Regions from separate parts of the Homo sapiens genome. Here regions 1, 2, 4, 5, 6 and 7 are each linked to region 3. Evidence: promoter capture Hi-C in human tissues and cell types (Jung and others, 2019). All regions are on one chromosome and are shown on one strand. The core of a region is centred on a gene start or on the middle of the fragment in contact, and the rest is flanking DNA. Distances in the headings are between cores, read along the strand shown. Region 1 overlaps TNRC6B (trinucleotide repeat containing adaptor 6B). Region 2 has its middle 4.6 kb from the start of CBX6. Region 3 holds the start of MGAT3 (beta-1,4-mannosyl-glycoprotein 4-beta-N-acetylglucosaminyltransferase). Region 4 has its middle 12 kb from the start of TNRC6B-DT. Region 5 overlaps TNRC6B (trinucleotide repeat containing adaptor 6B). Region 6 holds the start of ADSL (adenylosuccinate lyase). Region 7 has its middle 2.8 kb from the start of TNRC6B.

Region 1 (3,015 bases), core at 457-2,956, 850 kb after region 3:
CCTGCTGCAGCGCCCTGGCAGGCCCCAGCCCCAGCCAGGTCATTCAGTCTGAAGCCTTTCAGGTTTCCTTTATAAACCACTCTTTAATAAGCCCATCCAGGAGGCTGGTGAAATGCCCACGTGGAGCTCTCTGCCTGCCATCCCTAAGCATTATCATTTGGTTTCATGGCATGAAGTCAAAAATGATTTATTGAAATTGTAAAATCTGTTTGTGGACTGAATAATCTAAGCCCACTGATATCTACAGCTTTGGGCACTTTCAATGCTTCCTTAGGCTGATGATTCACCAGGTCCCCTTGTCCCCAAAGACATGATAGGTGCATGATAATAAATCTGAAATGGCATGTGAGAGGATATCTCAAAGGCAAAATCTCTACTTGCCTTTTTAGAGCTTATAGATCATGTTTTCCCATTTCCTTAGCAATCCCCAAAGTAATTGAGCTTGTCATTTTCCACTGCTTCACCATAATGTGCCTCTGAGCCAGATTTGTCAGTGGCTCCAGAAAAGTAAATGCCCTCTTAGCCTGAGTATGGAGGTAGTTTTGATAATATTCCCATTAGGCTGCATCACCCTGGAAATAATTTTATCCCTTCACAAGCAGCATCCTAAGAATAGATCAAGTGACCCAATATAGTATGTAAAATTCATTTGAGAAATAAGTAGACTGGTATCTCACTGATACCTAAAATTTTATTCAAAGTGCATGTTCTGTTAGTTCAAGGTAATTTTAAGCTTTTAATTATTTTCCTGCCCCATAGCATATAAAATGCATGATGGGGGCAGCGACAAAACCACTGAAGTGCTCTCAGGAAACCAGTTACAAAGGATTTGCTGTTCTTCATGTGTGAGGCCACGGATCCCAGAGCTGCAGAGTTCATTGCTGGTCTTGTGCTGGCAAAGACCCTAGGCGGGAATTCCATCTCATTGCGTTGGAATTTAAAGCAATTGCAGATGCTTTTCCCTCCAATGGACTCTCTGTTTACACTGCTGCTTCCAGCTAATCTAAGCCTGATCAGCCAGCCCTTAAGAACCTGGGTGGATAGCATCAGTAGAAATTTAGTTAAAACCTTCTTATGTGCTACAAATGGTTAGAATTTTCCCCATTTCTCACTCTTGAGTCGTTAGCATAGAAACTAGGGATAATGGTCAGATTCCTAGTATGTGAACGTTTCATTAATTTCATAAGACCATGGAATTTTAAAACTGAAAGGAACATTCAAGCATGAGAACAATCCTGTGTGCCTAAGTGAGGAACTGAGAGGCTCAGAGAGGCGAAATGACTTGTTGTTGGTCATGCTGCTTAGTAATTCTGTGCTGAGTCTCGAATGCAACCTCTTATTCCAGTGCTGTTTGTATATACTCCATCAGCTTCAGAAGACTGTTTGCATTCCAGCGAATAAAAAATAGACAAGTTCTATTCATAGGAGTTATTCTGGATGATTTAATTTCCTCTCTTTTCTCAGGCGCTATAGTGGCCCCTGGTAAAACCCGGGGAGGGTCACCGTACAACCAGTTTGATATCATCCCTGGTGACACACTGGGTGGCCATACGGGTCCTGCTGGTGATAGCTGGTTACCTGCCAAATCTCCACCAACAAATAAAATCGGAAGTAAATCCAGCAATGCCAGTTGGCCTCCAGGTATTGTCTAGGAAATGCTTTTCCCAGGATAGCATTTGTTTTGTAATTGTCAGTTTCAGGTTCAGAATACATTGCTTTTGTGATTCATGTTACTAAGGTACTTGCTTTTATTTTTTTCATTCAATAATTGTCTGTTAGAAGCAAGGCATGTGCTGTGGGAAGATAGAAAATTTTCATTAGATGGGGAATCTGGGGATAAGTGACATTGTAGGTGGGACTTTGCATTCGTCCCATGCATAGGATGCCTTGTAACATGGGTTCTTTTGAAGTGTCTGTTGAATTGATTTGTTAGTTCTTAGGCAAGTGTGTATTACCAGTTAGCTTCTAGGTATGCAGTAGCGATTGCAATGAGATTATTTGTTAATTCTTTTCTTTCTGTCCCTCCCTTTTGTTGGATATAGTAATCTATTCTCATGATAGAAAAATGAGAACATTTAATAAAGCAAAAATTAAAATCAGTAATTCCATAAATATATATCCTCCTAGACCTCTTTCTGTGCATGCGTATTTGTGACATGAATATGTATAGTTTCGTTTTATTAAGGTAGAATTTTTTTTTTTTTTTGAAAGGGAGTTTTGCTCTTATTACCCAGGCTGGAGTGCAGTGGTGCGATCTTGGTTCACTGCAAGCTCTGCCTCCCAGGTTCAAGCGATTCTCCTGCCTCAGCCTCCCAAGTACCTGGGATTACAGGCGCCTGCTACCACGCCTGGCTAATTTTTTGTATGTTTAGTAGAGACAGGGTTTCGCCATGTTGGACAGGCTGTTCTCAAACTCCTGACCTCAGGTGATCTGCCCGCCTCGGCCTCCCAAAGTGCCGGGATTACAGGCGTGAGCCACCACGCCCGGCCAAAGTAGAACTGTATAATGCAGATCGTTCATATATAATACACATTGCTCTTTCTCATCACGATTTGGAAAATAAAAGTTTATTGTGTCACATAGCCTTAAAATTTTAAAATGATTTAAATTGACCAATAAAAAAATTCCGAGCCCTTATGTATATTCTAGGCTTTCTTTTGCTAAGCTAAATTATCCCTGCTGGTTATCCCTGGACATTCTGTGTAGCAGTATCATTTGTATTACATTTTTTGCATTTTGGCCAACATCTCGTAAGGAAAATGAGAAAGAGCACTGATCTCTAGCCCATATTTTCACCGGTTCTTGGCCTAGATGCTGGGATGATTCTTGTGAACACCAGAGTCCTTACTCCTGCTTTCCCTGCCTTCAGCCCTGAAGTCTCCTGGGAGCAGGAGGATCAGGTTACTGGGGACAGGCTCTGATGAGCTGTGGCTTCCAGTTGACTGCCACAGACAGTGTGATAAAACAAAGGTGCTGTTGGCAAGAGTATGTTCATGGTGATTTTTTTTTCCTTA
Region 2 (3,257 bases), core at 572-3,071, 580 kb before region 3:
GGGGATGGGAAAGAAGTCTGCTATGGCATGGGTTGGGGCAGTACGGCAAAGGATGGCAATGGAAAGATGGGTTGGACTGAACTTGGGAAGGGCCTTGAATGCTGGGTAGGTTTGGACTTTGTCTCAGGCAGTGGGAAGCGTGAGGGAGTTTTGAGTAGAGGAGGGATGTGATGAGATGAAGTGGGAATTCGGGCAGCCAGGCTTGGATCCCTTTTCTTTTGGTAATCGTGTGATGTTGTACAAGTCCTTTTCTACTCTCTGGATCTTAGTTTTTCAACTTCAAAAATGGGGGAGGAACTGGCCCTTTTTCATGCTCTATATTTTTTGGCAGGTGACTTTTTTTTTTTTTTTTTTTGAGGTGGAGTCTCCCTTTGTTGCCCAGGCTGGAGTGCAGTGGCGTGATCTTGGCTCACTACAACCTCCGCCTCCCAGGTTCAAGTGATTCTCCTGCCTTGGCCTCCTGAGTAGCTGGGACTATAGGCGCGCCACCTTGCCAGGCTAATTTTTGTATTTTTAGTAGAGACGGGGTTTCACTATGTTGGCCAGGCTGGTCTCAAACTCCTGACCTCGTGATCCGCCCGCCTTGGCCTCTCAAAGTGCTGGGATTACAGGCGTGAGCCACTGCGACAAGCTGCAGGTGACTCTTTTGAAAATCTGTTATTTCCAAGTCATTCCAAAATTTTGGAGAGATTTATGGACTTCTCACATGCTTTTCCCTTGTTTATGAGCACCTGGAGAAGATAGTCTCTATTCTATGAGAAAAAAATCCCCTCCACCTCTGACAGTCTATAGTTCTGAGGTTTGGTGTAACATCACAAAGGAAAAAAATTGATCTCTTAGCCTGTGTGAGTTGTTGCCCAGACAGAGGGCAAATCAGTTTCCTATGAAATTGTGAACCAAAACTATCTGAGACAAGTCTCAATCAATGTAGAAAGTTTATTTTGCCAAGGTTAAGGACGTGCCCGTGACATAGCCTCAGGAGGTCCTGATGACTTGTACCCAAAGTGATAGGGGTATAGCTTGGTTTTATACATTTTAGGGAGATATGAGACATCAATCAGTACATTTAAGATGTACATTGGTTCAGTCTGGAAAGGTGGGGCAACTCGAAGTGGGGGCTTCCAGGTGGTAGGTAGATAAGAGACAAAAGGTTGTATTATTTTGATTCTGATCAGCCTTTCACTGAGTACACAATTTACATGTGAGGAGGGTAGAGGAAGAGTCACTTATGCCTCAGTCTGTCTCAGTGAATCTGCATTTTTACATAAGCAACAGGCGGAGGAAGCAATCAGATATGCATTTGTCTCGGGTGGGAAGAGGGATGACTTTGAGTTCTGTCCTTGTCCCGCATCTGTTAAGATAAACTATCAATTTACATTGCCAAGGTGAAATTCAACAGAACTGTTTTAGGGTAAAGATGCTGAGGCCCACATGGAAATTCCTTGGGGGCAAACTCTGAAGGAGATATGTAGTTTTTTAATCTTTGTAACTATCTTATTTGGGGAAAAAATGGGAGCCAAGTTTGCCTGATGCAGTCCCCAGCTTGACTTAGTGATTTTTTGGGTTCAAATTTCAACCCCAAAAAAGGCAACAACTGTCTTTCTTTTTTTTTTCTTTTCTTTTTTTGAAATGGAGTCTCGCTCTGTCGCCCCGGCTGGAGTGCAGTGGCGCGATCTCGGCTCACTGCAAGCTCTGTCTCCTGGGTTCATGCCATTCTCCTGCCTCAGCCTCCCGAGTAGCTGGGACTACAGGTGCCCACCACCACACTCGGCTAATTTTTTGTATTTTTAGTAGAGACGGGGTTTCACTGTGTTAGCCAGGATGGTCTCGATCTTCTGACCTCGTGATCTGCCCGCCTCGGCCTCCCAAAGTGCTGGGATTACAGATGTGAGCCACCGCACCCGGCCAACAACTTTCTTTTTGGCTTAGTGATTTGGGGGTCCTGAGACTTACCTTCCTTTCACCAAAAAAACCTGTAGTACAGCAAACAAAAATTTAGTAGCTTAAAACACAAGAATCTATTATCTCTCATGATTCTGTGTTTGACGGGCACTTTGGATGGTTCTCTTTCCTGCTCTTGTATAGGGTAACTGGTGTGGCCACGGTCAGAGACAAGGCCAAGGCTTGATGTGTACATCTGGAGTCATAGTACTGGATGCTGGCTGGGCCTCTCTCTCCTCGTGGTCTCTCATCATTCATAGTCTACTTCAAGCTTGCTTATGTGGTTCCAGGAGTCACACAAGAAGGTGAGAGACACACAAAGCTTCTTAAGGTCTTGCCTTGGAACTTACACAACATTGCTCCCTCTGCATTCTGTTGGTCAAAGCAAGTCACAAGGTATGGTGAGCAGATTTCAAGGCCACTAAGGTTCCTGCCTCCCCCAACCCAGTGTACATGTCCTGTATAATCCCCTCCCTTTGAGCATGAGAGGGACCTAAGGAACGTGTTGGGATTTTGCTCCCATGATTAGGTTATATTGAAAAAACAGGCCGGGTGTGGTGGTTCCTGCCTGTAATTCCAGCACTTTGGGAGGCCGAGGTGGGTAGATCACCTGAGGTCGGGAGTTTGAGACCAGCCTGGCCGATATGATGAAACCCCATCTCTACTAAAAATACAAAAATTAACTGGGCGTGGTAGTGGACACCTGTAATCCCAGCTACTGGGGAAGCTGAGGCAGGAGAATCACTTGAACCTGGGAGACGGAGGTTGCAGTGAGCCAAGATTGTGCCACTGCACTCCAGCCTGGGCAACAGAGCAACACTCTGTCTCAAAAACAAACAAACAAGGTTTTGTAGACATAATTAAGGTCCTTTAAGTTGACTTTGACTTATTCAAAAGGGAGTTTATCTTGGTCTGACCTAATCAGGCGAGCTCTTTGAAAGACAATCCAAGCCTCTCCCAAGAGGAAAGGTTGGAAGCAGTGGAATTGCGCTCCTGTTGACCTTGAAGAGGCAAGATGCCATGTTGTGGAGAGGGCCATGTGGCAGGAACGGTGGTGGGTGGTTTCCAGGAGCTGAGGACCTCAGTCCTACAATCACAAGGATCTGAATTCTGTGACTAGCCACTGAGCTTGGAGGAGAACTCTGAGTTTTCAGATGGGGATGTGGCGCCAGCTGACACCTGGATTGCAGCCTGTGAGACCCTGAGCAGAGACTTCAGTTAAGCTGTGCCTGGACTTCTGACCCACAGAAACTGAAATGATAAAGGGGTATTGCTTTAAGCAATCAGTGATAGAGCATAGCAAACTAATATATCAG
Region 3 (3,034 bases), core at 528-3,027:
GATTTTGGGGGAGTGACAATTACCTTAAGCACATGTCATGGAGATGATTTATTTTTTTTTTGAGATGGAGTCTTGCTCTGTTGCCCAGGCTGGAGTGTAGTGGCATGATCTCGGCTCACTGCAACCTCCGCCTCCTGGGTTCAAGCAATTCTCCTGCCTCAGCCTCCCGAGTAGCTGGGATTACAGGCGTGTGCCACCACACCCGGCTAATTTTTGTATTTTTAGTAGAGATGGGGTTTCATCATGTTGTCAGGCTGGTCTTGAACTCCTGACCTTCTGATCCACCTGCCTCAACCTCCCAAAGTGCTGGGATTACAGGCATGAGCCACCATGCCCGGCCCATGGAGATGTTATAATGGAATGTGCTTAGAGTGATAGGAACTAGGAATGGATCTTACACTTTCAAATGGTTGGGAAAACATCAAAAAATGTTTCTGGACACGTGAAAATGACACGAAATTCAAATTTTTGTGTCCATAAAGTTTTATTGGAACACCGCCAGGCTCATTCTTTTACGTATTGTCTATGGTTGATTTTATGCTACGATGGCAGAGTTGAGTAGTTGGGACAGAGACCATATGGCTGGCAAAGCCTAAAAGATTTACAATCAATCTCTTAAAGCAAATGGTTTGCCCACCCTTGCTTAGAGAGAGCCTCCAGGAAGAAAAGAGCAGTGAGGGTGACGTTGAAGAAGGGGGCAAGACTAGGTCACCAGGGGCTCCCTGTGCCCCGCCCAGGCACTGAACTTAAGCTGAGGGCAAGTGGGAGCCATTGAAGGTGCAGGCAGGAGAGTGACCTGCTCAAGTGAATGTTGGAGTAGGATCACTCTGCCTCCTCAGCAAGGATGGATGAAGCTGGGCACGGAGGCACCTGGAGCAGGTAGACCAGCCCTAGGCAGCCCGGATGGTTCAGCAAAGGCCTCTGGGACTATTCTGGAGCACATTCGCTGGGATATAGAATAGGTAGCGCATCCCTGCACCTTCGACGATGGCGGCGCAGAGATGTCTGCTGCGTACCCACAATGCCTTGTGCCTCGCACCGCGGGAGGAAGTGGCTGCTCTGTAGGCCCCAGAACGGAACCACTTGAAAGGCGGGAAACACGTGGGGGACGCCTCTGAGCCCTGAGAGGAATGGCCTAGAGCAAGGCCACGAGGAGCCAGGGCACGACACGGTGGGCCCTCGGAGAACCGCTGGTGGGCAAGTGGCAGGAGAGTAGGCTCAAGAGGGTTGGCAGGGCCGACCGGGCCTAGGGTGGCCGGGTGAGGGGGGCGGGGGAGGGGAGGCCCCCCCAGTTACCCCAGGAGTGCGCAGGTGGCTTCGGGCATGTGAGGGACGGAGGGGGTCGGACGGAAGGACACAGGCCGGTGTACAGCGGTCACCCACGCCCCAAGCAGACACACAGACTCTGCAGACACCGTAACAGGCCCGGCACCGTGCACACATCACAGGCCCAGGCCTCTGCACATGGTCACAGATGCCTATGCGAAATCCCGGCCCAGGTTCACGCGGGCACAGGCGCATCCACGCACACACCGCAACACGGATCTGCACGTCCATGCACACACAGGCACAGACTCGGGCACACGGAGTCACACCGACCCGGGCACGCTGCGGAACGCACCCGTCCACGCATACACAGAACGGGACTTGCTGCCCCGCACGCACACCAGGCCCGCACTCCGAACTACCCGCATTCCCCGCACACGCCCCCGCGCAGGCCGCCCCGGGCCGTGGGCCGGCGCACGCACGGTCACAGGAGGGGCGCGCGCACACTCGCACTCACACACACTCGCTCGCACACGCACACACTCGATCCAGCACGCGCGGGCGGCGCGGGGCGGCGGCGGCCGGAGTCTGCGGTGCGAGGCGCCCCCGGCCCGGCGCGGCGGCGGAGCCCGGCTGGCGGGGGAGGGGAGGGGGTTGCGGAGGGGGCGGGGTGGGGGCCGGAGCCGCTTGAGCCGGCGGGAGCGGGCACCCCTGCGCGCCGCGCTCGGCCTCGCCTCCGCGCCCCCCGCGCGCCCGCCGCGGTCCCTCCCCCGCGCCCGTCCGCTCGCCGGGCCCCCGCCGCCGCCCCGGGGTGCAGCCGAGCGGCCGCGCCGGGTCCCCGGGACGGGGTGGAAGTGGGGGTGGGGGGAGGGGATCGGGGCCGGGCCGGGGCCGCGCTGCCTGCGATGCCGGGCGCCCGCCGCAGCCGCTGCCGCCGGAGCCCGGGATGGGGCGAGAGGCTGCGGCGGACGCCAGCATCTCCCCGCCGGGGACCCCGGGGGCCGCGGAGCCGCCGCCGCCGCTGCTGCCGCCGTTGCTGAGACCCAGCGGGCGATGGGTGAGTTGACCCCGGCGTCCTGGGGGGCGCCGCGGCCCCTCTATCCCCGCGCTGCCCGCCCTCCCGCGCTGCGCTTGGCGCCCCCCGCCCGGCTCCGCGGCCCACTCCCCGAGCGTGACCTTAGGGGGCGGGCGCGGGCGCACTGGGGCTGGGGGCCCGGAGGCCGCGGTGGGGGCGGGATGCCGGGGAAGCCGCTCGGCGCGGGCCCCCTCCCCCTACCCGCCGCTCCTCCGAGCTCCCCGGTCCCCGGAGGGCAGAGCCTCAGCGCCCGACCCCCTCCCACGGCCGGGCGGGGGACGTCCCCGAGGCGCGGGGCTCGAGCCGTGCTTTGTGCGCGGCACCCCCCAGCCTCCGGCGCGGCTCCCCCACAACCTCCGGCGCGGCGCGGGGCTGGGGTGGGAGGCCTCCGCGCCCGCCTTCCCCACCCCCGACCCCAGACTGCGGCGGCGGCAGCCGAGGCCCAAGCGCAGTCGGGGGCTGGGCGGGTGCGGGGGCTGCGGCCGTAGCTACCCCTGGGGACCAGGCAGAGGCAAATGTGGAGAGGGCCCCCGGCCATTTACCGGGGTGGGGGCCCCCGGCTCCTTGCATTGCTCTGCCCAGGGCGGGGGAGGGAACCTGGCTGAGGGAGGGCGCTATAAATATCTGCAAATAGTGAGTTCTGGAACCGGGAGTGGGGAGGGGAGTGCGCCTGGGTGTGTGTATGGTGGGGTT
Region 4 (3,101 bases), core at 44-2,543, 600 kb after region 3:
ATAGTAGGTCCTCAATAAATATTTTTTCAAATGAAGTTAAGAAAGAGAATTTAAAATAGAATTTCTAAAAAACCTCATTTTAGGCAAAGCTTGGTGGCTCATGCATGTAATGCCAGCACTTTGGGAGGCCAAGGCAGGCAGGTCACTTGAGTCCAGGAGTTCGAGACCAGCCTGGGTGACATGGTGAAACCCATCTCTACAAAAAAAAAAAAAATTAGCTGGTTGTAGTAGTGCGCGCCAGTAGTCCCAGCTACTCGGGAGGCTGATACAGGAAGGTTGCTTGAGCCCGGGAGGCAGAGGTTGCAGTGAGCTGAGATTGCACCATTAAGCTCCAGCCTGGGTGACAGAACAAGACTCCGTCTCCAAAAAAAGAAAAGAAATTATGCTTGGGCTTGACATGATGACGCTCTCACTAAACATTTGAATGCATAGACATGCTGAATGCTGTGCTAGGAGCCAGGACTACAGAGGTGGGGCGAAAGGAGATCTTTGTTCCCAAGGAATGCACAGCCAGGTGGGTGAGACAGATGTGGACACAGATGAGTGCCATTTAGTGTAATAAGTGCTGTAATAGACAGTACAAGAGGTGCTGCGGGGATGAAAAGGAAGGTCATCAACACGATGGGGAGGTTGAGAAAGCCTTCCCAGGGAAGGTGACACTCACACTAAGTTGTGGAGGAAAAGGGCATTTCCGGCAGAGAGAACAGCCTGTGTAGAGGCATGGGGGAGCGTTTTTAGTATGTGGAGAAGATGACCGGCACAGCGGTATGCTTTACAAGGCTGGCATTAGGGTACAGGGCTAATAGCTGACTTACAGTTGAACCATGATATGTCAGACTCAGCCTCTTACTCCACTGCAGTTTAGGACAGGAAATGACCTTAGAATAATGATCTGAATCTGTATGTTTGAATTCATAAAGGCATAGAGTACCATTCAGAGAAGATAATCATAAACCACAACGGCACTTGTCACTTCTAGTTAATATACTTGCTTCAGTGGTGTACCTATAACCATGCAAATGATGTTAGGTGGAATTAGAAAGTGGTGACTCATTTAAGCTTATCTGTAGGAGCAGAGAGTGTAAAGGAAGTGACTTCTAGATCACCTGAGGTGAGTGCTGATACCATCTCAAATGGATCAGACACTGAACCAGTGAAAGAGAGGAAATCAGAAAAGAGGACTACCCAGAAGGGCCTCTGGTATATGTTCTGGGAAAGACAGTTCCTACAGCTTGAAGGTCTTTACATATCTCCAAGTCTCCAAGTGGTTCACTGAGCTAACATTAATCTAATTTAATTCTCAACCAGATTTGAAAAAGGGAGATTAATTGGATAAAAATGTAGCCCATTTTCCTTCATTTACTCCTATTTGTTTTCAATGTCTCTTTCCTTTTCTGTCTCCTCCTATCCATTTTTCTCTCCCTGTTACTCTTAAGTAGTGTCTCCTTTCCCCATCCACCCCATCTCTAGCCATCTTCCATTCTATTTCCGCTAAGTTGCTTTCAGTTGCAGGATGTCCATACCTTGTTGGCTAAACTAATGTTTCTCAGCTTTGCATATTCAGAGCTTGATATTTTTCAAATGGGAAGAAGTGATTATGCTCTGGTAGTGCTGATTACACTCACAAGATGTTAATTGACTTACGGTAATGCCGATTTCTGCAAGTTCTGTGTATGTATTTGATCTACATAACAAAGGGCTAAGGAGCTAAGTGATGATAGGGAGAATGGTAGTAATGAATGCAGTTTAGTTTAAGATGTTTGGAAGAGAAAGGACAGAGAAAAATGGAAGCAGGACGAGGTTGAGAAGGCAACACCTTTAAGTAAGATAGAAAATCAGGCTGGGTGCAGTGGCTCATGCCTGTAATCCCAGCACTTTGGGAAGCCAGAGTAAGAGGATCACTTGAGGCCAGGAGTTCGAGACCAGCTTGAGCAACATAGTGAGACCCCCATCTCTACAAAAAATGTTTTAAACATCAACTGAGCATGATGGCACATGCCTGTAGTCCTAGCTACTCAAAAGGCTGAGGCAGGAGGATTGCATGAGCCCAGGAGTTGGAGGCTGCGGTGAGCTAGGATTGCATCACTACACTCCAGCCTGAGAGACAGAGTGACACCCTGTCTCAAAAAAAAAAAAAAAAAGAAAGAAAAATCTATAATCTATTAAAAGATATACAGGAAGCACCCAGCGGAGAAAGAAAAATGGAAGTTGCTTGAATAGAGATGGTAGCAGATTTGATGGGGCAAGGCCACCAGATTCCTCCCATGGGCACAGGTAGACTATATTCATTGGAAGTTCCTTGTAGTATCTCAACAGAGTAAGAAGTCGTCATGGGTTCTCATCTTGGATACCTTGAGCTCAAAATGAGTTTATGCTACTTTGTTTTGTCATGGCACCCACTAGAATGGTTTGCACATAGTAGGTGTAAACAGTCGAGATAAAGTCACAGGATTGAAAGATGATACTGATTATACCTTTAAACTTCTTACCAGGTAACACTATCTGTGGTTTATGACAAGGGAACATGTTTATTAATCCTCTTGTGAATAGTACAGTTACATTGAATTTTTTTCCTAAAGGTGTTGATTTATTAAATGTGTACATTGAAAATATGCCAGGTTTTTTTTTTTTTTTTTTGAGACAGAGTTTCGCTCTTGTTGCCCAGGCTGGAGTACAATGGCACCATCTCGGCTCGTCGCAACCTCCGCCTCCTGGGTTCAAGTGATTCTCCTGCCTCAGCCTCCCGAGTAGCTGGGATCACAGGCGTGTGCCACCACGCCCGGCTAATTTTGTATTTTTAGTAGAGACAGGATTTCTCCATGTTGGTCAGGCTGGTCTCAAACTCCTGACCTCAGGTGATCCGCAGCCTCCCAAAGTGCTGGGATTACAGGCGTGAGCCACCCTGCCTGGCCCAGAATTTTCATAATGGTGTTTTGGCATGTCTTTATTTAAAAAAATATATATACATATCTCGAGCCTCAAAAACTGGAAGTGGACCAGGCTTTCTAACCTGGAGACCCCCTGGTCAGCATATCAAGAGAAATGTCTTGGGTACTTGCTGGGTACAAGATTCTGATGTGGAGGAAGGCAATCCAAAGTAA
Region 5 (2,925 bases), core at 391-2,890, 740 kb after region 3:
CTGGCTAAATTTTTCTGTAGAGACGGGGCCTTGATATGTTGCCCAGGCTGGTCTCAAACTGCTGACCTCAGGCAATCCTCCTGCCTTTGCCTCCCAAGGTGCTGGGATTATAGGCATGAGCCACCATCCTCAGCTTTATTTTGTTTTGTTTTGTTTTGTTTTGTTTTTTGAGACGGAGTCTCGCTCTGTCGCCCAGGCTGGAGTGCAGTGGCGCAATATCAGCTCACTGCAAGCTCCACCTCCCAGGTTCACACCATTCTCCTGCCTCAGCCTCCCCAGCAGCTGGGACTACAGGCGCCCGCCACCACGCCCAGCTAATTTTTTTTGTTTGTTTGTATTTTTAGTAGACGGGGTTTCACCGTGTTAGCCAGTATGGTCTCAATCTCCTGACCTCGTGATCCGTCTGCCTCAGCCTCCCAAAGTCCTGGGATTACAGGTGTGAGCCACCGCGTCCAGCCTTTTTTTTTTTTCTTTTTAATACACTGCTAGGTTGGCCCATAGTGCATCATATTGTTAACACCTTTGATTTTAAAAATTGCTTACCTCTAATGGATTTTTTTCTTTTTTTGAGACAGGGTCTCAGTCTGTTGGAGTGCAATGTCACAATCTCAGCCTCAACCTACCGGGCTCAAGCAGTCCTTCCATCTCAGCTACCAGAGTAGCTGGGGCTACAGGCTCCACCACCATGCCTGGCTAATTTTTTTGTAGAGGTGGGGCTTTCTAATGGATTTTTAATAATGTGATCTTCTTCTATCACATGTTAAATCCTAATAGTTACTGGTACTTAATAGATCTAGAGGTAAAAACCAGATAACCCACCACTGAATAAATGAGTGCCTCAGTGGTCCAGGACCCTAAAACTGGGCCTCGTTGGAGTCTCTAGGACTTGTTGGCACCTTTATTTGGAAGTCAGGGTAGAAAAAACAGCTTATTTGTTCATTTCTTTCTCCTAGAATATTTCTATTCTCCTGAGGCAGGGATGAGTTGGTTGCTCATTTTTAGATTATGGAACTCTTGCTGATGTTTTTTTCTGGAACTCTTGCTGATGTTTTTTTCTGGTTTCCCTTTGTTTGGGTCGGGGCAGTGATAGGGCAGATGTGGTTCAGGCTCGCAGTTATGACCTGTACTCTGCAGTAGCTTCTCTCTGAGGTTCTGTGTAACCAAATTTTAAAACATTGCTCTGAGTCATGCTGAGTTTTTCCATAAGGCTCTGGTCGGGGGGAAGGGACATGAACTGATTCATTAAGTGCCTATTATGCTGCACACACTTCCATTACCTCATTTAGTCCTCCCAACAACCTGATGTGGAGGATGGTTTTATCTTCATAAGAAAAAAGGAGTGCTGACAGCTCAGTGACCAGGCTGCAGCCATGTACACATGAGGAGGTGGAGGAACTGGGTGCTGTAACTCCACCAAAATTTTCTTCTCTTCCCAAGCTGCCTTAAACACAGTGCAGAGTGATTTGCTAATTGATTGGTTGAATCCCTGTATTATAAAGTGGAGTGTCTTAAAATATGGATGCAGATGACGGGAACAGCTTGCTGGCTTTATGGTGTCCTCAGCACTGCATTCATGATAAACAACAGGAGAATGAGACTGTGCTGATCGTGTGCAGAATAGGAGGTCTTTGGGAGCATCCCTGGCTGGCTGCTGAAAGGTGTTTTTCTTGTTTTTTTTTGAGACAGAGTCTCACACTGTTGCCCCTCGCTGGAGCGCAGCACATGGCTTGATCTCAGCTCACTGCAACCTCCACCTCCCGGGTTCAAGCGATTCTCCTGCTTTTCAGCCTCCCAAGTAGCTGGGATTACAGGTGCCTGCTACCACACCCAGGCTGATTTTTTGTATTTTTAGTAGAGACGGGGTTTCACTATGTTGGCCAGGCTGTTCTCAAACTCCTGACCTCATGATCTACCCCCCTCGGCCTCCCAAAGTGCTGAGATTACAAGCATGAGCCACCGCACCCAGCCGAAAGGCGTTTTTCTTTTTCTTTTTTTTTTTTTTTGAGACAAGTCTTGTTCTGTTGCCCAGGTTGGAGTGCAGTGGTGCGATTCATAGTTCAGTGCAGCCTCGACCTTCTGGGCTCAAGCTGAGATCCTCCTGTCTCAGCCACGCAAGTAATTGGGACTACAGGCATGAGCCACCGTGCCTGGCTAATTAAAAAAAACTTCTTTTAACAGAGACAGGGTCTCCCTGTGCTGCTCAGGCTGGTCTTGAACTCCTGGGCTCAAGTGATTCTCCCACCTCAGCCTCCCAAAGCGCTGGGATTACAAACATGAGCCACCATGCCTGGCCCATTTTTTCTTTTTAAGCAACATGACAGATTAACTAAAAAAGAAAAATCACTGAATGGTTAAAAAGTTTACTTCAGGTGATTAATTGAAAAACCAATTGATTAATAAAGACATTTTTAAAGGATCTAAACTGTATTGAGTTTAAGTTGTAATTCTTAAAGCATAATCAGAAGGCTTATCAAAGCTATAACGAAGAAAATAGAAGTCATTTGTAATTAGACAATAATTAAAGGCAAGTACATGCCCAGTGATTTTAAAGTGCTTGAAAACAATTAGTTTTCTTAAGTAGGTTAAATATCTGGGTTACAAGCTTGTTTACACTATTAATTTACTTAGCAAACCTGTTCTTCATAGATGATGCAAAGTTGAATTTTAGTTTGGCCGTCTGAATTATTACAAGTTCTAACTTAACAGATATTCTTTAAAAAATACATTTTTACATTAATTCTTTTTAATTTTAAAAGCATTCTTCTTTTCTCTCTCTTTTCCTTCCTGAACAGTTCAGTCCTAGAGGCTATTAAGTGGGCTCAGCAAGGTGTTGGCCTGGCCAGGGGTATCAGAGCCTGAGTAGGATGAGGAGGGAGGGTCTGGTGTGCTGTGTCAGAGCCCAGGAGAGGTGAGAAGGGCATCCAT
Region 6 (2,811 bases), core at 106-2,605, 890 kb after region 3:
GCTAGGAGTTAAGTGCAGGTGGAGAGGGTGCAGGCACCCGGCTCTTTTCGTTTGTTTTGTTTTTGAGACAGGGTCTCACTGTTGCCTAAGCTGTAGTGGCAAAATCATGGCTTACTGCAGCCTCAACATCCTGGGCTCAAGTGATTCTCCCACCTCAGCCTCCCAAGTAGCTGGGACTACAGGTGCACACCACCATACCCAGTTAATTTTTGTATTTTTTGTAGAGACAGTGTTTCATCATGTTGCTCAGGCTGGTCTCCAACTCCTGGACTCAAGCGATCTGCCCAGCTCAGCCTCCAAAGTGCTGAGATTATAGGCGTGAGTCACCGTGCCCAGCTGAGACACCTGGCTCTTACAGCTCCAGATGAACCCTTTCCTGTGTGATCACCCCACTGGCACTCCAGACTGAACAACATAGCAAGACCCTGTCAAAAAAAAAAAAAAGGGGGGGGGCCACTTGAGTGTTTCTATTTCTATTTATTTATTTAATTCTTTTATTTTTTGGAGACGGAGTCTCGCTCTGTCGCCCAGGCTGGAGTGCAGTGGCGCGATCTTGGCTCACTGCAACCTCCGCCTTCCGGGTTCAAGAAATTCTCCTGTCTCAGCCTCACAAGTAGCTGAGACTACAGGTACAGGCCGCCATGCCCGACTAATTTTTTGTATTTTAGTAGAGACAGGGTTTCACGTGTTGCCCAGGCTGGTCTCAAACTCCTAAGCTCAGGAAATCTGCCTGCCTCGACCTCCCGAAGTGCTGGGATTACAGGCGTAGGCCACCGCAGCCGGCTCACTGGGGGCGCAGTAAATGCCGATTTCCCTTGGGTATCTTCATTTCTCCTTAGAGCCGAGCTCGGTGCGCCGCGGGCAGGAGTGGGTGGGGCGACAGTAATAAGAGTAACAGCAAGCGTACACACGGCCTTCCAAGTGTGCCAGACACCGCTCTAACACTGAATCCGCACAACCCGAAAGGCAGGCCTTTTTTTTTTTTTTTTTTTTTGCTTTTTGTTTTTTAGAGACGGGAGGGTCTCCCTGTGTTGCCCAGGCTGGTCTCGATCTGTCGGCCTCAAGCGATCCTCCGGTCTGGGGCCCCCACAGTGCTGGGATTACAAGCGTGAGCCACCGCGCCCGGCCAAGGAAGTCTTAATGTACCTCTTTTCAGACAGGAAAACTAAAGTGTAGCGCGGCTAAGTAACGTAGGAAGCATCAATCATGTTTCTGGTCAAAGAAGCGAACCAAGTCAATTCTCAGGCAGAAGCAGCGGAGATTCTCCGCAGCCGGCAGCGCCCAGGGCGCCCGGAACCCAGAGAGCGAGACCGCGTGAAGGAAGTCCCGCCCCGCCCCGTCCTGCCCTGGCCTCCAGGTTTCCGCTTCCGCTCTTCCCTGGTCCAGTCCACCCTGGCGGGGTCGCAGGGTTGGGATGGCGGCTGGAGGCGATCATGGTTCGCCCGACAGCTACCGCTCACCTCTTGCCTCCCGCTATGCCAGCCCGGAGATGTGCTTCGTGTTTAGCGACAGGTATAAATTCCGGACATGGCGGCAGCTGTGGCTGTGGCTGGCGGAGGCCGAGCAGGTAACGGATCCCGGGCTGAGGGGCTGGGCCGGGAGGGACGGGCCCGCCCCAGCACGTGCCGGGCTCTGTTCCGGGCTGGGCTTAGCCACCCCGGAGCTGCGGCCCGGCTATTTTCAGCTGGGTGTTCCCTGTCCTGAGGAGCTGCGGCCCCAGGAAAGCAAGGGCAGGAGATCCGGGAGCCGCCACCTGTTGCCTCACGTGTTCTCAGTCCGAGAGGGTTCGAGACGCGGAGGAGGCTGGGAGAAATTCAGCCTGTAGTTTCAGGGAATTCATTTTGGCCATCCCCGCAGGAGTACGCTGCTAACCACAGACACCGAGCGCTTGTTTCGTACTGTTGTGCTCATTATTTCACTAATCTTTTCTTGTGTAATCCATGAAGATCTTGCAGGCTTGATGGTGTTTTTCCCACATTGCAGGGGAGAACAAAGCCCGGACAGCTTGTTGTTTGCCCTAGCCCATCCAGCTATTAAGAACGGAACTGGGATTTGAACCTGGGTGCACTCCAGAGCCTGAGCTGAGCACGTAGCCCCTTGGTTTTCCACAGTGCCTGTGTAGTTAGTGACAGGACTGGAATGCTTGTTTTCTAGGCCACCGTTTCTGCCTCACTGGCCTCCGCTTTGCCTCTTAGGAGAAGACTCCGGGTAGGGGTTTATTAAACGGGGTTTATAATTTCTTTTCTAAGGGCTGCATAGAGAACTTCTTAGCCCAGCGGTTTCAGAAATAGCTCCAGAAGAGTTGAAGCAAACTGAAGGTGATCCAGAGAGCGATAATGTTTCTCCTCAAGTTTCAGAGGAAAGTGCCACAACGAGCAAGTTGGCAATGCCCTCTCAAACGGCACAGTAAACATGGAAACAATTTGACTTCGGGCCTAGGACCTGTACCATGGAACTCTCCAAACAGGAAACTTTCATTCTAGATTCCCTCCCTCCCCTTATCACTGCCCTCCAAAATATTGGGCGATACACTACAATAATAGCAGACATTCAGATAGTGCCTTCTGAGACCCAGGTCTTAACCCTTTACACATGGTTGCTTATTAATCCTCCAAACAACCCTGAAGAGTAGGTATGAAATACTATGACTGTACCTGTTTTACAGATGGAAGAATGAAGCATCAACTTAATAAACTCTTGGCGTAGATAGCGATAGTAGTAGACCTTAATCATGTGTTGTGGTTTGTGATGTACTAGTGTGTACTCTTTCTATTTCATCTGATATTCTATTCTGTAGATGAGGGTAGTGGT
Region 7 (2,979 bases), core at 89-2,588, 720 kb after region 3:
AGTCTCAAACTCTTGGGCTCAAGTAAACCTCTAACTTTGGCCTCCCAAAGTGCTGGGATTACAGGCATGAGTCAACACCATGGCCAGCCTTGCTTTTATATTTATTCATTTTTGGGGTTTATTAACTCTTTTTCTAGATTTTTGAACATATATATATATATATATATTTTTTTTTTTTTTTTTTTTTTTTTTTTGAGACAGAATCTCATTCTGTTGTCCAGGCTGGGGTGCAGTGGCATGATCTTAGCTCACTGCAACCACCATCTCCCAGGTTCAAGTAATTGTCCTGCCTTAGCCTCCCAAGTAGCTGGGATTACCAGCAGGTACCACCATGCCCAGCTAAATTTTGTATTTTGAGTTGGGTTTTCACCATGTTGGCCAGGCTGGTCTTGAACTCCTGACCTCAGGTGATCTGCCTGGCTCAGTCTCCCAGAGTGCTGTGATTACAGGCGTGAGCCACCACGCCCAGCCTTTTTCTAGATTTTTGAGTTAAATACTCAGTTCAGTTATTTTTCAATCTTGTTTTCTTCTTTTTCTTTTTCTTTTTTTTTTTAGAGACAGAGTTTTGCTCTATTGCCCCAGCTGGAGGGTAGTGGCACGACCTTGCTCACTGCAGCTCACTGCAACCTGCAGCCTCCACCTTCTGGCTTCAAGTGATTCTTGAGCCTCAGCCTGCTGAGTAGTTGGGACTACAGGCGTGTGCCACCATGCCCAGCTAATTTTTGTTATTTTTAGTAGAAACGGGATTTTGCCATGTTGGCCAAGCTGGTCTCGAACTCCTGGCCTCAAGTGATCCACCCACCTCGGCGTCCCAAAGTGCTGGGATTACAGGTATAAGCCACCATGCCTGGCCAATCATGTTTTCTGATAAAAATATTTTGAGGAATGGTATGTAACCTCCAAAGGTGCCAGCTTTGAAAGATAACAGTCATTTGAATGTTCTTGTTTTTAGTTTTAGAAAATAATTTTTATGGCTGAGGCCGGCAGATCACGAGGTGATCACGAGGTGATTTAGTGAAACCCCGTCTCTACTACAAATACAAAAAAATTAGCCGAGCGTGGTGGCAGGCACCTATAGTCCCAGCTATTCGGGAGGCTGAGGCAGGAGAATGGCGTGAACCCGGGAGGCGGAGCTTGCAGTAAGCCGAGATAGCACCACTGCACTCTAGCCTGGGCGACAAAGCGAGACTCCATCTCAAAAAAAAAAAAAAAAATTTATTTCTTTGTGTCCTTACCTTACAATAATATAATTTTAAAATATTGTCTAATTGTTAATATGAAAAAAGTATAATAAATCTATCACAGAATCTATTATGTCTGGAAACACAAGGGAGAAATAATGTATTTATTGCACTTGTTTGTTTTAGATAAACGATTAGACTAATTGTATTAAATTTAGAGGTATTGCATAGAAAAGATGATGTGGAGGTTAAGGAAAAAATATTCAGTGGCCGGGCGCAGTGCCTCATGCCTGTAATCTCAGCACTTTGGGAGGCTGACGTGGGCAGATCACGAGGTCAGGAGTTCGAGACCAGCCTGGCCAACATGGTGAAACCCTGTCTCTATTAAAAATACAAAAATTATCTGGGCATGGTGGCATGTGTCTGTAATCCCAGCTACTCAGGAGGCTGAGACAGGAGAATCGCTTGAACCCAGGAGGTGGAGGTTCCTGTGAGCCGATACCATGCCACTGCACTCCAGCCTGGGTGACAGAGCAAGACTCTGTCTCAAAATATATATATATATGTTTTCAGCATATTATTTGAAATTAGAACCAATATTTTATTTAAAATATGTTTGTTCTGTTTCCAAACTTTTCATGCAGTTTGCTATTTAACACTTACAAGGCAACACATATAAATATTTGTATACAATAATATTCTACACTGGGGAATGGAGACTTAGCAAAGTTCAGTTTCATAAAGAAAGCATGTCCATCACAAATTAAAACAAGGTGGATGTTCAGTCTCCACACATTTTTACAAATCGAGCCAGCTACAAGCAAGTAGGCTTTCAGTAACTCATCTGGAAGGTATTGGAAGGATAAAAATAGACTAAATAATCAGAATTTCCATTCTAGTAGTTTCCTGCTTTTTCCTGCATCTCAATTGTCAGTGCAGGGCCTGGCTATTTCACTCAGTGCTAGGCAAAGACAGTGGAAGCTTGTTAAGCCACAGCTATTCAGGCTACCAGATTGTCCAGGCATTGGCCTTTGCCTGCCATGAAACAGCTCCTTTCCTGTCGTCATATCTGAGTGGAAAGAGCAAAGGCGGGAGACTGTATAAAGACCCAGAAGCCAGGATGACAACAAGTGTTGTGGGATTTTACAAGCATTCGTAGGTTCCTTTTCAAGGAAAGCCGGGTTTCTAGAATCCATCAGTTGTCTGCTGGCTGGCATGGCAGCCTAGTTTATGGGAGAAGCACACTAGGGAATCCTCCCTTTTCTGGCTTATAGAGATAGGTGGAGTCGATAGTCACAGGGCATTCTCATGCACTTTTTTTTTTTTTTTTTTTGAGATGGAGTTTCACTCTTGCTGCCCAGTCTGGAGTGCAATGGCGCGATCTCGGCTCACCACAACCTCCGCCTCCCGGGTTCAAGCGATTCTCCTGCTAAGCTCAGCCTCCCTAGTAGCTGGGATTACAGGCATGTGCCACCACGCTGGCTAATTTTGTATTTTTAGTAGAGACGGGGTTTCTCCATGCTGGTCAGGCTGGTCTCGAACTCCCGACCTCAGGTGATCTGCCTGCCTCGGCCTCCCAAAGTGCTGGGATTACAGGTATGAGCCACCGCACCCGGCCTCATGCGCTTTTTACCATTTTAGTTACTTTCTTTCCTGAAGCCGTCCTTAAAACATAGATGAATGCGAGTTTCTGGGAACTATGTGACCCTCATTCCCCTACATTTTTTATATTCAGGTGGCAGATTTCCTCCTACTCAGCCCAGCCCTTCTGAATAGGGTCCAAGTCATTGATTTATTC

What was found. Contacts are between HindIII fragments. The study calls those that stand out against the background at their distance.
Region 1: a contact is called between a fragment that was not itself captured here and the fragment with the promoter of MGAT3 in region 3, in 3 of the 25 tissues and cell types used here (dorsolateral prefrontal cortex, lymphoblastoid cells and mesenchymal stem cells).
Region 2: a contact is called between a fragment that was not itself captured here and the fragment with the promoter of MGAT3 in region 3, in 1 of the 25 tissues and cell types used here (spleen).
Region 4: a contact is called between a fragment that was not itself captured here and the fragment with the promoter of MGAT3 in region 3, in 4 of the 25 tissues and cell types used here (dorsolateral prefrontal cortex, liver, lymphoblastoid cells and 1 more).
Region 5: a contact is called between a fragment that was not itself captured here and the fragment with the promoter of MGAT3 in region 3, in 1 of the 25 tissues and cell types used here (lymphoblastoid cells).
Region 6: the fragment with the promoter of ADSL here is called in contact with the fragment with the promoter of MGAT3 in region 3 in 5 of the 25 tissues and cell types used here (IMR-90 fibroblasts, dorsolateral prefrontal cortex, lymphoblastoid cells and 2 more).
Region 7: a fragment that was not itself captured here is called in contact with the fragment with the promoter of MGAT3 in region 3 in 1 of the 25 tissues and cell types used here (dorsolateral prefrontal cortex).

The regions. Positions count from the first base shown.
Region 1 is chr22:40,309,353-40,312,367 of GRCh38, forward strand. TNRC6B (trinucleotide repeat containing adaptor 6B) reads left to right here. Exons shown (of 23, transcript NM_001162501.2): 17 at 1,465-1,641. Among named protein-coding and RNA genes, the nearest start is that of ADSL, 36 kb to the right of the region's middle. The HindIII fragment of the contact is 7,129 bases long and covers 1-3,015 here.
Region 2 is chr22:38,875,181-38,878,437 of GRCh38, forward strand. No RefSeq gene overlaps it. Among named protein-coding and RNA genes, the nearest start is that of CBX6, 4.6 kb to the left of the region's middle. The HindIII fragment of the contact is 3,463 bases long and covers 91-3,257 here.
Region 3 is chr22:39,455,235-39,458,268 of GRCh38, forward strand. It overlaps MGAT3 (beta-1,4-mannosyl-glycoprotein 4-beta-N-acetylglucosaminyltransferase), which reads left to right and starts at 1,778. Exons shown (of 2, transcript NM_002409.5): 1 at 1,778-2,323. RefSeq lists silencers at 1,704-1,763, 2,494-2,763, 2,774-2,903. The HindIII fragment of the contact is 12,980 bases long and covers 1-3,034 here.
Region 4 is chr22:40,054,674-40,057,774 of GRCh38, forward strand. It overlaps a transcript of TNRC6B not described here. Among named protein-coding and RNA genes, the nearest start is that of TNRC6B-DT, 12 kb to the left of the region's middle. The HindIII fragment of the contact is 4,520 bases long and covers 1-3,101 here.
Region 5 is chr22:40,195,619-40,198,543 of GRCh38, forward strand. All of the region lies in intron 1 of TNRC6B (trinucleotide repeat containing adaptor 6B), which reads left to right. Among named protein-coding and RNA genes, the nearest start is that of TNRC6B, 19 kb to the left of the region's middle. RefSeq lists enhancers at 1-198, 199-731. The HindIII fragment of the contact is 3,393 bases long and covers 1-2,925 here.
Region 6 is chr22:40,345,145-40,347,955 of GRCh38, forward strand. It overlaps ADSL (adenylosuccinate lyase), which reads left to right and starts at 1,356. Exons shown (of 13, transcript NM_000026.4): 1 at 1,356-1,567. The coding sequence starts at 1,415. RefSeq lists enhancers at 871-1,384, 1,385-1,898, 1,899-2,411 and a silencer at 1,609-1,698. The HindIII fragment of the contact is 18,864 bases long and covers 1-2,811 here.
Region 7 is chr22:40,173,628-40,176,606 of GRCh38, forward strand. It overlaps a transcript of TNRC6B not described here. Among named protein-coding and RNA genes, the nearest start is that of TNRC6B, 2.8 kb to the right of the region's middle. The HindIII fragment of the contact is 5,621 bases long and covers 1-2,979 here.